Linked DNA regions of Homo sapiens: region 1 is linked to region 2. Evidence: promoter capture Hi-C in 16 types of primary human blood cells and fetal thymus (Javierre and others, 2016). All regions are on one chromosome and are shown on one strand. The core of a region is centred on a gene start or on the middle of the fragment in contact, and the rest is flanking DNA. Distances in the headings are between cores, read along the strand shown.

What was found. The method cuts DNA at HindIII sites, captures the fragments that hold promoters and counts their contacts. A CHiCAGO score of 5 or more calls a contact.
Region 1: a contact is called between a fragment that was not itself captured here and the fragment with the promoter of STX3 in region 2, in 1 of 17 cell types (neutrophils). The highest score is 5.3, in neutrophils.

Annotation. Positions count from the first base shown.
Region 1 is chr11:59,938,024-59,944,297 of GRCh38, reverse strand. It overlaps OOSP1 (oocyte secreted protein 1), which reads right to left and starts at 5,866. Exons shown (of 5, transcript NM_001395276.1): 1 at 5,768-5,866; 2 at 1,270-1,451. The coding sequence starts at 5,843. The HindIII fragment of the contact is 5,072 bases long and covers 1-4,296 here.
Region 2 is chr11:59,753,766-59,760,128 of GRCh38, reverse strand. It overlaps STX3 (syntaxin 3), which reads right to left and starts at 4,753. Exons shown (of 11, transcript NM_004177.5): 1 at 4,494-4,753. The coding sequence starts at 4,523. RefSeq lists a silencer at 4,553-4,812 and enhancers at 5,683-5,842, 5,779-6,073, 5,839-6,133, 5,823-6,323. The HindIII fragment of the contact is 11,536 bases long and covers 1,875-6,363 here.

The DNA of each region.
Region 1 (6,274 bases), core at 511-3,010, 190 kb before region 2:
ATGTGCTTCCCAGATCCCCTAAGGGCTTGTTGACCCAGCTGCTAGGAATGCTGTTACCAGATAGCCTTCAGCCTTCAGCTCTCACCCCCTCCAGGAATTATGTAGCTGCTGAGGGCTGTCTTACCCCTGGCCACACCCCTCTCCCAGGGTGGCCCACTTCTGATCACCTACCCAGCAGGAATGTGAAGCCCTGTGCAGGGTCAGCCAAAGCTGTCTCTAAGCCTGCATCACAGCTCAGCTTTGCCCTTTGCCCAATCTTCTTTCTCCCAAAAACACTTCTTAATAAATATTCCGCACACTCAACTCTACCTCAAATTTTGCTTTTGCTTTCTGTGTTACCCAATCTGTGGAATTTATCTAAACCTGATCAAGTTCTATTACTTCTTTTAGCGTTTTATTTGGGATAATGAAAAAAATAAGTAATATCATAGCAAGATTTTACTAACTTTAAAAACTTTTTAAATTAAGTCAAAATTCCAGTTATACTTTTATCAGTGATATGCACAATGACTTAGTTAACCCAAAATATCTGGTGAGTAGGGGCTAGGGCTGGGAGATCACTGAATATTTACTTTGAAAAGGCTTCTGATGCTTGATTAGTGTTACTCCCTCATTCTGGTCGCAATTGACCAAACTTCATGAATTATAATAAATAATTAGTTAGAGAAACTGTTGAAAAACTTTCTGATGCATGGAAAATACTTTCTTCCTTCAAAACCTTCAACTCTCCCGCCTGCTCCATCACTAAATGAATAATTAGTGTTTGCAATTACCACCTAACAAGAGAAAAGCATTTAGCATCTCCTTTCTTAACTGCTTCTGTCCTAAATGTGATCATTAAAGAGTCTAGCCATATTACAAATAGACACTTAATGACTTCTAGTTTGTAGGTATGTTGAAGGAACCATAAGACACTTGGGTTTTTTTGTTGGTTTTTTTTTTATACTTTAAGTTTTAGGGTACGTGTGCACAACGTGCAGGTTTGTTACATATGTATACATGTGCCATGTTGGTGTGCTGCACCCATTAACTCGTCATTTAACATTAGTTATATCTCCTAATGCTATCCCTCTCCCCTCCCCCCACCCCACAACAGGCCCCATGAAGCTAGAAACCATCATTCTTAGCAAACTATCGCAAGGACAAAAAACCAAACACCACATGTTCTCACTCATAGGTGGGAATTGAGCAATGAGAACACATGGACACAGGAAGGGGAACATCACACACCTGGACACTTGGGTTTTAAGTAAGATAGCCATTTCTTACTTGAGTTACAATACCACAGTCATGAGGATGGTAGAAAAACTCATAGTAGACATTTGGCAAAACATGGGTTACATGGCAGCCATCTCCTAGAAACACTTCATCGGGGTTCACATACAAATTGTAAAATATCGTGGGTTTAATCCTGGCAAAGAACCAAAACTGGGTGCAGTGTACTTGAATAGCTGAAAAGCAGGAAAAAGAAATTTTGTTAGTATGCAATTACATAGATCAGCTCAAAAAAATTTAGCATACCCTGTTAATACAAATGAAGAGATCATCCCTTACTAAAACAAAATGTCTTAAGAGGTGAACAAGTTTGCAAAACATGGTCTCTGAATTATTACTTCATCCCCTAAAAATATCCACACATATACTCATTCTTCAAATACATTCTTTAGTGAATCTATATATAGGGGGGAAAAAATCAATACAAAATAAGATTTCATCTAACCCTCCAAAGTCACTTATTGTAGAGCTAGAATCACAAGACTATATCTATATTATAATGTTTATACTAAGTATAGAGCATTTTCTGTCTCCCTTGTTCAACTGAAGCTCTTTGACGCAAGCCCTTCCATTTCTATGGAAGCAAGCAGTTTCCATTTTTATACCCACAGTTTCATGATATATAAAGACTTGTCCACAAAACTCAAGCTAGCAAGCAGGCTTTTATAGAAATTGAGTAAAAACAGTGCTATCCTTTCCCTTCTATCTTGAAATATCTGGACATTAAGTTTTTTTACTCTGGAAATGGAAATAATTTTCTGATACAATCTGCTGCTTGAATTAGGTCCCAGGGAAAGAGAATTAGATCAAACTAGAAATTATGAGACTGGGTAGGCATGAGTTTTTTTGTTTTTGATTTTTTAAGAGTAAGTTTGGCTATTCTTCTAGACTTCACTAAAGGAAAATTTTATCAGTTGCTCTTAAGATACTAGAAGGAGCCTGAGTTCTCAGGAGATACTGAAAACTCAGCGGAGAAACCAAAGGAATATAAATCTGCAATCCTTTCACAGAAGGGGCTATACATATTGCAAATAACTATATGAAAAGATGTTTAATATCATCAGCCATTATGGAAATCCAAATTCAAATCACGATATTACTACACACCTATCACAATGGCTAAGATGAATAATAGTGAAGACACCAAACGCTGGTGAGGATGCCGAGAAACTGGGTCACTCATACATTGCTGGGACAATGTGAAATGTATCAACCACACTAGAAAACAGTTTGTCAATTTCTTTAAAAACTAAACATACAACAACCATATGACTCAACAATTAAACTCTTCGGCATTTATCCCAGGGAAATAAAAATGTATGTTCACATAAAATGTACATAAATGGGCTGGGCGAGGTGGCTCACTCCTGTAATCCCAGCACTTTAGGAGGGCGAGCCGGGTGGATCACGAGGTCAGGAGTTCAAGACCAGTCTGATCAACATGGTAAAACCCCATCTCTACAAAAAATACAAAAATTAGCCAGGCATGGTGGCACGTGCCTGTAATCCCAGCTACTCAGGAGGCTGAGGCAGGAGAATCATGTGAACCTGGGAGGCAGAGGTTGCAGTGAGCCGAGATGGTGCCACTGCACTCCAGCCTGGGCGACAAAGCTAGACTCTGTCTCAAAAAAAAAAAAAGTACATAAATGCTAACAATAGCTTCATTTATAATAGTCAAAAACTGAAGACAGCCCAGATGTCTTTTGGTGGGTGAATGGTTAAACAAACCATGGTACAATCATGCCATGGAATTCCACTCAGCAATAAAAAGAATCAAGTGTTGATACACGCAACATCTTGGATGAATCTTCAAGGAATTACACTGAGTGAAAAAAAACGCCAATTCCAAAAGGTTACAAACTCTGAGCCCATTTATATAACACCCTTGAAATGACAAAATTGTAGAAATGGAGAACAGATCTGTGCTTGACAAAAATTAAGGAAAACGGAGACAGAAGGTTTGGCATTAGTGGTTCAGGAGGAAAGTAGAAGTGGCTCTAAAAGTGGCATCCTGATTACAATAGAAATGTCTGTCCTTTGGCTACATCAATATTAATATCCCAATGTAATACTGTATTATATTTCTGCAAGATGTTACCATTGTGTGAAGCTGAATAAATAGTATAATTGATCTCTGTATTATTTCTTACACTGCATGTGAATCTACAATTACCTAAAAATAAGACGTTCCTTAAATGTAAAACCAGTTATTCATATCCACATTAGCAAAAAGTAAGACATCTGTGAGCACCAATTAGAATTAAAGAACAATTGAGCAAGAGAGTTACTTTTCAGATCTGTACCTGTGGCCTCACAGTCCCATTCCTAGATATGCACACACAAAAAGAAACCACTCAAATACAAACATTATTTGTAACGGCCCCACACTAGAAAAATTCTATCAATGTGAGAACAGAAACAATTTGCAATGCATTTATTCACTGGACTGCTAAATAGTAATTAAAATATACCAAAGCTACAAATGTAAATCTCCAAGTGATGGACAACAAAAAAGCTGTAGAATTAAATAGAAATAGAAGATAAATGCCTGCGAAACATATTTACAGATCCACAAATTTGACGTAAAATTGTAAAACACACAGGAAAATGAATAATTACCAAACTCACATATGGGCAAAGAGGGAAGAGAATAGGATCAGGAATGACCACAGGGACTTCAACTCTACCTGAACTTTTACTTCTATTAGAAAATAAAATGTAAGCAAATGTAGCAAATTATGGATTTAATAAAGCTGAAGAGCAGGTCAGTGAATATTGATATTATTCCTTATAGTTACCTGCTTTTTTAAACTTAGTTATCCATTTTAAATAGTTCCTAATAAAAGAAAGCATAATGAATACACTAAGATTCTAACATGTACCCATGTCAGGTCTAGGTTGTCTTGTTGAACGGGTAGCTTGACAAGTATACACAACCTTTCACTGCAATTCCGAAATCTTAACCTTAGAAATTGACAGCCCAGGCAGGAAGCAGTGGCTCACGCCTTTAATCCTAAAGCTTTGGGAAGCCAAGGTGGGAGGATTCCTTGAGGTCAAGAGTTGGAGACTAGCCTGGGCAACATAGCAAGTCTCTACAAAAAATTTTTTTTTAATTAGCAGTTCACAGCTGCAGTGAGCTACGATGGCACCACTGCACTCCAGCCTGAGTGACAAAGAAAGAAAGAAAACAAAAGAAAGAGAAAGAAGAGAAAGAGAAGAGAAAGAGAAAAAGAAAAGAAAGAGAAAGATGAGAAAGAGAAGGGGAAAGAAGAGAAAAAGAAAAAAGAGAAAAAGAAGAGAAAGAGAAAGAGGAAGGGAAGAGCAAGGGACGAGGAAGAGGGAACAGGAAGAGAAGAGGAAGAGAAAGAAGAGGAAGAGAAAGGGAAGAGTAATAGAAAGGGAAGAGGAAGAGAAAGGGAAGAAAAAAAAGAAAAAGAGAGAAGGAGAGAAAGAAAAGAAAACAGAAAAAAGCATTCAGCACAGTGGCTCATACCTGTTATACCAGCACTTTGGGAGACCGAGGTGGGCAGATCACTTGAGGCCAGGAGTTTGAGACCAGCCTGGCCAATATGGTAAAACCCCGTCTCTACTAAAAATACAAAAATTAGCTGGATGTGGTGGTGCACATCTGCAGTGCCAGCTACTTGGGAGGCTGAGGCACAAGAATCACATGAACCCGGGAGGCAGAGGCTGTAGTGAGCCCAGATCATACCACTGCACTCCAGCCTCGGTGACAGCGAGACTCTTGTCCCAAAAAAAAAAGAAAGGAAGAAAAGAAGGAAAGGAGGAAGGAAGGGAAAGAAAAGAAAGAGGGAGGGAGGAGGGAACGAGGGAGAAAGAGAAAGAAAGGAAGAAAGAAGGGAGGAGAGAAAGAAAGGAAAAGAGAAAGAGAAGCAGAAATAGAGGAAGAGAAACTGACAGCCCAAGTTTATACTCAGGGCTACCAATCATTCTGGTTTGCTCCGAACAGGAGGTTTTTGGGGCCGACGCAGGAAAAGTACTGGGAAAACCTGGACCACTGCTCACCTCACTTAGGGGGCACTGACTGCTCCCTCTGAAATGAAAAGGATCTATGAAGTATAAGGTAAAGAAAGGCTAAGCCTTATAAGGCTTTCTTCCTGTATGTGACACACCACAGAGTCCCAAGTTCCTACCACCACCCACTCCTCTGTTTTCCAGGCCACTCCACACTCTTTATATTAAACCCACTTCAAGTACTTGATCCCCAAGAATTGATATGGTCAGAATAAGATCAAAAGGAAAGGGGAGTTGGAGAAAGACAGTCTCAGGTTAGGGCACATTCCCTAGTCTCAGTGCCGGTATGCAAGAGAAAAACATGGTATCTCAAGATTGCACATCGAAAAGAGGCACCACCCCTCCATGTGTCCTTGGCTATTATTAAGATTCAACCAGACCACAACTGTAAAGAATCCAAAGCCACATCTTTCAGCTCTCTTTAAGAAACTTCTATTCCCCAAGTGATAAGTTATACCTGACCAGTCCCCAGCGCAGGTCCATATCAAGGAATGCAGATAAAAGAGCCCTTTGAACCCCAGAATGGTCTTCATTTGCCCAGATTGAAAACCAAACCTCACTCAGGAAACAGGAAGTTGGGGAGAATAGCCTTATATGCCAAAATGCCTGAAGCCACACATAGGTGTGGGTAATTAATTACAACTTTGGACAGCACACACGTGCCATAAATATAATTTTGTTTCATTTTCTAAGATGTTACACTTTTTACTCAAATGTCAAAAAACAAGAGCAAAGATAAAGCAAAATGTGCAATAGAAGTACAACAGAAGGCTTCACTTGTTTTAGAGTCCAAAGCATCAGATATAGTTATTTTTATGCACTAAGGTTTACTTTATTAAAACTTCCTAATATCCTATAACATCTGTCTCCACATCTGAACACGAAAGAAATAACTGGATGATAATTTACTTGTTCTGTGCATCTCAGAAGGCCAAGCCCTGAGAACATGGGAATTGAAAGATTT
Region 2 (6,363 bases), core at 3,504-6,003:
GGCTGATGGGGCTGTAATCCCTACTCAATCCCCATCACTCTCAGCTCTGGTTCCCGTCTGCTCACAGAAAAACAGCTCTTCCAGAGAATGAATCCTCCCAGGTACAGAGAAGAGGGGAGGCAGGAATCCTGACTTGAATGAAATTTTATGACTAGAGAAAGACAGAATCTCAGTGAAGCGCAGATTGGTATGTTAAGGTTCAGTTATGATCCAAAGCACCTGGCACATAAAAGCGGCTCGATAAATATTTATTAACAAATTAAGCTTTAAAGGAGAAGTACACAGCTCCATGTTGCTGATGGGGTTATAATGTTATCCTAAGGAACTATGATTCCACAAAGATCCTGGAGCTTCCAGTGGGGAAGGAGGCCAATAACAGCCATTTAGGAAGCAGCAAGACACAGAGAGAGTAAAAAGTTAGTCTGGCCTTTAGAGCCCCAGGTGGTTGATTTCATTAGTGTGTCCTTATTAGTGCTGGTCTTTGAAGGGCCATTACATCCACGTCATTTCCAGTCCTCTACAGATCCGTCTCCAAGGGAGTCCAAAGCCTTCAACCTCTATTCCATACATCACTGGCTTCTCCATTACCACCATATGGCTTTGATTACTGTTGGCCCTCTTGTCATATACTACATGTCTTTGTCTTCCCTATGTGATCATTTACCCTTTGATACTAGGACTTTGTCAATCCTGCCTAAACTTGACGCCCAGCAGGATGCTAGGCACACAGAGGTCACAAAGCTCTGATCATGGTGGTCAGCAGGTACCATGCACATGCGACCCTGCTGATGCTCCCTTGAGTTGTTTATATGCTTGATGGTTTATACACCAATGCGAGAGTGATTAAGACAATCTAGGATCCTTGCCTTTCTTGTTAAGCCTCAATTCACTCACTTGCAGAATGAGAATAATAGAAAAACCCACTCTGCTTTGCAGGGTTGAGAGGATTAGATACAAGGTCTCTTTACTTATCTGGTACGTAAAGTAACTTATGTATCTCCAACCACCTTTACATATCTGAAAAGGTCAGATTGGGCTGGAAGAATCAGCTGAGCTCAAGCATTACTACTTCTTGGGAACCCACCCAAAGCCTCATGCCCATCTCCCATCTTCCAAAGACTGGCCAACAGGGTCTTCCTGTGGTTGCTTCTATCACAAGGATGATATCCTCATGTCTATTTCTTCTGTTTCTTCCTACCTGACCATGAACTTTCTAAGGGCCAGGAACATGCGTTTATCACCATTACACTCCAGCATCTAGTACAAGGACTGGCACACAGTGGGTACTCAGTACTCAGCAAATGTTTGCTGAATGAAAACAGGGCCATGCAAAAGCATGGAACTGTCTGGACTCAGCAGATTCAAAGTTCAGCTGCTGAGAAGTCAGAGAAAACCATGTCCTGGGATAGGCTGGGTAGAGGCACTGCACATTCTTGGCAAGCCTGTCCTGTGTCACTGAAAAAGCAGGCTGTCGAGGGAGCCCACCAGGAAGAGCAGTGCAAGAGAAGAGATGAGATGAGACCAGGTGAGTCAGATCTTGTGACCATGGCCTCAGGAAGGGATGCCCTTCTGTGTGGACGCTGTTGCCAGCAGGCCAAGACAGAGGAACTAACAATAACAGTGGTGGGTGATTGTCACGGATTATCTCATTTTATCCTCACAATGATCCTATGGGAAAAGGGTGATGAGCCACTTTACAGGGGCAACTCTTGAGGCCTCAGTCCCTGTAGACTTCAAAGCCTCAGGACAGGCTCACAATTAAGCATTTTATAAAACCACACATTCTTAAGGTTGGTGAAGGCCTTATATCTCCTAGTTCACCTCCCCTCCAAGAGATGCTCAAATTCCTACAACATTCAAAATCCCAACAAGCTTCTTGCTTCCTTCCCATGCTGGAGGGTGCACCATCTACTCCATCCTTGGGCAGCTCTGTCTACTAAAAACGCTTTCTTACAGATTCCTCATTTCTACCCATCAACCCCACATGTTCTCTTTGTATCTACCCAGAACAAAGTCAATCACAGGCACGGAAAGCCCTCCAGTTATCGGGAGGCAGTTACCACCTCCCCTCCCCAGGATTTAGAAAGAACACCACAGAAAGAGATTGCATAGGCTGCTCAATGTGCAATTTGTTTCATGCAGGTTAACAAACGCTTCTAATTGATAACGGAAATCAGAGGGAGAAGACGCATATCTTGTTTCAGTGAGGGTGATCCCTGGGAGTCTGGCTGGGGAGAGGGGATAAGAGGAGGTGAACTGACACCAAAATCCACATAAACCTTAACAGTCTTCAAAGAAAAACCTATAATAACGCCAGAGGGGGCTTCTGAGATCAACTCAATTCTTTGTTGTATAAAGGAGGAATTGAGAAGCAGAGAAGTGACGCAAAGAAGCACAGTGATCAGTCTTGGAACCTGCCACCTGTGTCCCTTTGTCCCACGCTGCCATGCATCTGCTCCAAGACGCTACAGAAGCCACCCTGTGATTTCAGAACAATCCTCCCATAATACCACCACCATCTCCAGTCTCACTTTCACCACATCCCCAAGAGGGAAGGGGAGGAAACCTATCATTAATTCCATTGTACAGAGGGTAACCATGAGGCACCGAGGAGAGGCAAAGAGACTTGCTCAGCGTCCCCAGGCAAATTAAATTTATTCTTGGAACTCAAAGCTCAGTTAAGACTCTTTGCTCATTGTTGACAATGAGCTACTGAAAGGGGCCATGGAGTATCTTCCTCTGGAAGTGGATTTCCTAATAAATGGAAGAGCCTGCTGTTCAGTTTTGTACTTTTTTATGGTTGCTGGGTGTGCCGACACAGAGAGATCTTCAAAATCGTGCTCTTCTTTTCCTTCTGCCTCCCCAACCAGCGTGCTTCAAGGGAAGGAGCACTGTGGAGAGTGTCAAGAGCCTGGGTTCCTCTCCTGGTGGTGCCCTGGCCGGCTCTGTGTCCTGGAGCATCCCTCCTACCCCGTGAGCAGCAGTTTCCCCATCTATAAAAACAGGGGCAATAAATTCTGCCCCATCAGTAACCTGGACGCTGTGAGGCTGAGATGACTAAGCACAAGCCTGAGGCAGAGAGGCCACTCCCACAATAGGCAACTGTCCCTTTGCTTCTCTCACTTCCCCAGCTACCTGCCTCCTCCGCAGCCCTGCTACACAGAACAGGTGAAACAGGAATGAAGGTCTCATCCAAGCAAGGGAGAAAAAGGATAAACTCTTGTAACATCATCCCAGCAGTCCCTGACATCTGCATTTTCCCAAGAGCACTCACAGTTATTAGCATATTTCACCATTTATTAAGTCCCCCGTGCCATGCACCCTAAAAGTGTTCTTAAGCATCTTCTGTTGCATTTCGACCTTACAACTACCCATTTTACAAATGACAAAACTTAGGCTGGGATTTTAAGGGATCACCAGTAAGCAGTGGAGCCAGGAGACAACCCCAGTTCTAATCCAGTCCAGTGCTTCCCAAACTGTAATGTGCCCATGAATCACCTGGGGAAATGGATGAATAATTAGATTCTGATTCTGCGGGGCTAGACTCAGGCCTAAGCTGCTACACTTGTAACAAGCTCCAAAGTAGATGGACTAAACTCTTGAGTGTCAAGGGCTAGATTTTAATTCTATTAAGGTAGAACCTGTGCCACTGAATCTCCAAGGCTTAGCACTGGACCTCCCCATAGAATACACTCAATAATTATGTACTGAATGAGTCAATGAATATCTGGCTTAAAACCCTATGCGTTAACCCTTTTCTGTATCAAGTTCCATTGTATCAGCTGATCCTCCCAACAAATTCCTAGGGTATGATCATTCCCATTTGATAGATAAGGAAACAGAGACTCACAGTAAGTAACCTAAGGCTTTACAGCTTTTGCGCAGCCAAGGCTGGAGGTAGTCTACCTTCAGATCCTTTGACCTAACCACAGCTGTTCCAAAAGATACGGCGGGGGAGGGGGGGACAATGACACCCGGGGATAACAATTACAGACCACCGGTTGGAGAGGAGCTGACCCATCCCAGCATGTGACCGGCTCACAGCTCCAGAGGTCACCAGAGAGCTCTGAGCTGCTCCCTGGGGGAAGGGGCAGCCAGGCCTGTAGCACCTCAGGAGAGAAACAGGAAAGGGAGAAGGAGGCTGGTCCTGGGCATAGTGCCAGGCAGCAGTGGGCAGGTGGTGAAGGGACCCCTGACCTCCCGGGCCCAAGCACCCGCTTCGGGAACCAGCTCTGGACAGACACTGTCCAGCTTGCGGGGTGGGAGAGTTAGAGGCGTTCAGGAAAATCATTGCCTAGCGATGAATCACCGGGCACATGACCCCGCAGGGGAGGGGAGGGGAGGGTGCGGAACCGGCGCGGGAAGCGGTGGGGGCTTGGGGAGGGCAAGCCTCCGGCTCGGGCCCCCCTCCAGCCTCGACTTGGGGAGCAAAGGGAAGCCCCTCTCCCATGCAGCACCCCTCCTGGCAGCACCCCGCCTGCGGCGAAACTCACGGCCTTCAGCTGCTCCAGACGGTCCTTCATCCTGAAGCCCAGGCGCCCGGAGGCAGGTAGCGCGTCCCAGGTGAGCGCGTCCCAGGTGAGCGCTTCCCAGGTGAGCTGCCGGAAGCGGCGGCCGGGCCCGCCGGGGCGAAGGAGCTGGAGGCGCAGGCGGCGGCGGGCGGCGGCCGCTAGCTAGGAGGAGCGTCCGAGGCCACGGGAGCCTCCGCCGCGCAGCCCCCTCCGCCCCCACCGGCGCCTCGCGCTCCAAATCCGGCTCCCGGGCCGGCGCCGGCGCAGCGCTGATCCGCCCTGGACCCGCCCCTACCTGGCCGCGCCCCTCGCTCCTTCTTAAAGGGCCCGCGTCCCGCCACCGCCCGGCCGCCCGGGGCGTCTCCAAAGCCCCCTTCCCTAACCCGAGAGCCCTCCAGACACGCGTGGAGTCCGGGGAGAGGCCCCTGCACCGGCGGATCCTGCCGCAGGGCCGAGGAAGAGCAAGAGCGACTGTCTGGCTGCGGTCATTCGCTGTCTGTGCCGGGCTCCTCGCTAGGATCCAGTTCTTAGCCGACTCCTTGCTAGGCGGGGACAAGCTCCCGAAAACAAATAAGACAATGTGATGTGGGCTACATTGGGTGGCAGTCGAGTGTTCTAAAAATATCCCGCCAGGAGGAAGGCATTCCGAGTAGCGGGATCCCGCGCAGCCTCAGGGCTGCTGGCAGTGAAAGTGGGGGGATGGAGGAGGTGTCCAGAGGAAAGACCTGGAGATCTGGAGATACAGGACGGTCAGGGTGGTCAGAGAATTTGGATCTTTTGCTTGTTGGAAATCGGGACCGCTCCGAGAAACGTAAGCAGCTCGATGTTGTTAGTGCCAGTGGAGACACTTGGCACTCACAATTTGCAGACGTTTGGGAAAGCATCGTTTCTCAAGAGGACCCCGTTCCCGTGTCTGTAAATCAGAGATGGTACCCACTTCGTAGTTCGCTGTGAAGCCTGTGAGCGAGGAGGGGCTTTAAAATACAGAACTTTGCACTGGAGCGCTCCCCGTCCTCGCAGCCTGCTTGGTGTGCAGGTGGTTCCCAGGCGGCTTCTGCTTCCGAAAAGCAGATCGTCCCTTTATCTCGAGTCTTCTCCCCGCCTCTCCCTCTTCTCCCTACCCTATTTGTCTTCTTGGGAACAAATGGCACATTCATCAGAGTGGAGATCCATAAACGGGACTGGCGAGCCGAAGATTTAATTCTGAAGAATAGGATCTGCTCTGTGCTTTCAGGTTAAAAAGCTGTAAATATCTTTGTAATTCTAGCAGTACTTTGCCCTCTTCTGCCATCTGAACGCGTGCTCCCTGCTGACCTCATCGGCTCCCATAAAGATACGGTGCGTATGGCAGAGGTCGGGCTTTGAGCCGGCCCCGCGGGTCTCGGCCGTAGTTCTCTCTCGCGTCCGGCACACTTCCTTCTGCCCGCTGTGCTCGCTGGGCAGGTTGTCCCCGCCTTAGTACCAGGAGGGCTTCCGCGCCCCCTGGTGGTCATACTAGGAAAGGCGAGTAGATCAGAAATACACACTGTCCCACCTCCTTCCCCTAACACATTTTTGGGGAGTTTGGGGGTTGTTTGTTTGTTTGTTTGTTTGTTTGTTTGTTTTTTAGACAGAGTCTCATTCTGTTGCGCAAGTTGAGTGCAGTGGCGCGATCACCGCTCTCTGCAGCCTCGATCCCCTGGGCCCAACCCATCCTCCCATCTCAGCCTCCCAAGTAGCTGGGATTACAGGCGTGCGCCACTACGCCCGGCTAATTTTTGTGTTTTTTTCGTAGAGATAGGGTTTCGCCATGTTGCCCAGGCTGGTCTGGAACTCCTGTATTCAAGCCATCCGCCCGCCTCGGCCTCTCGAA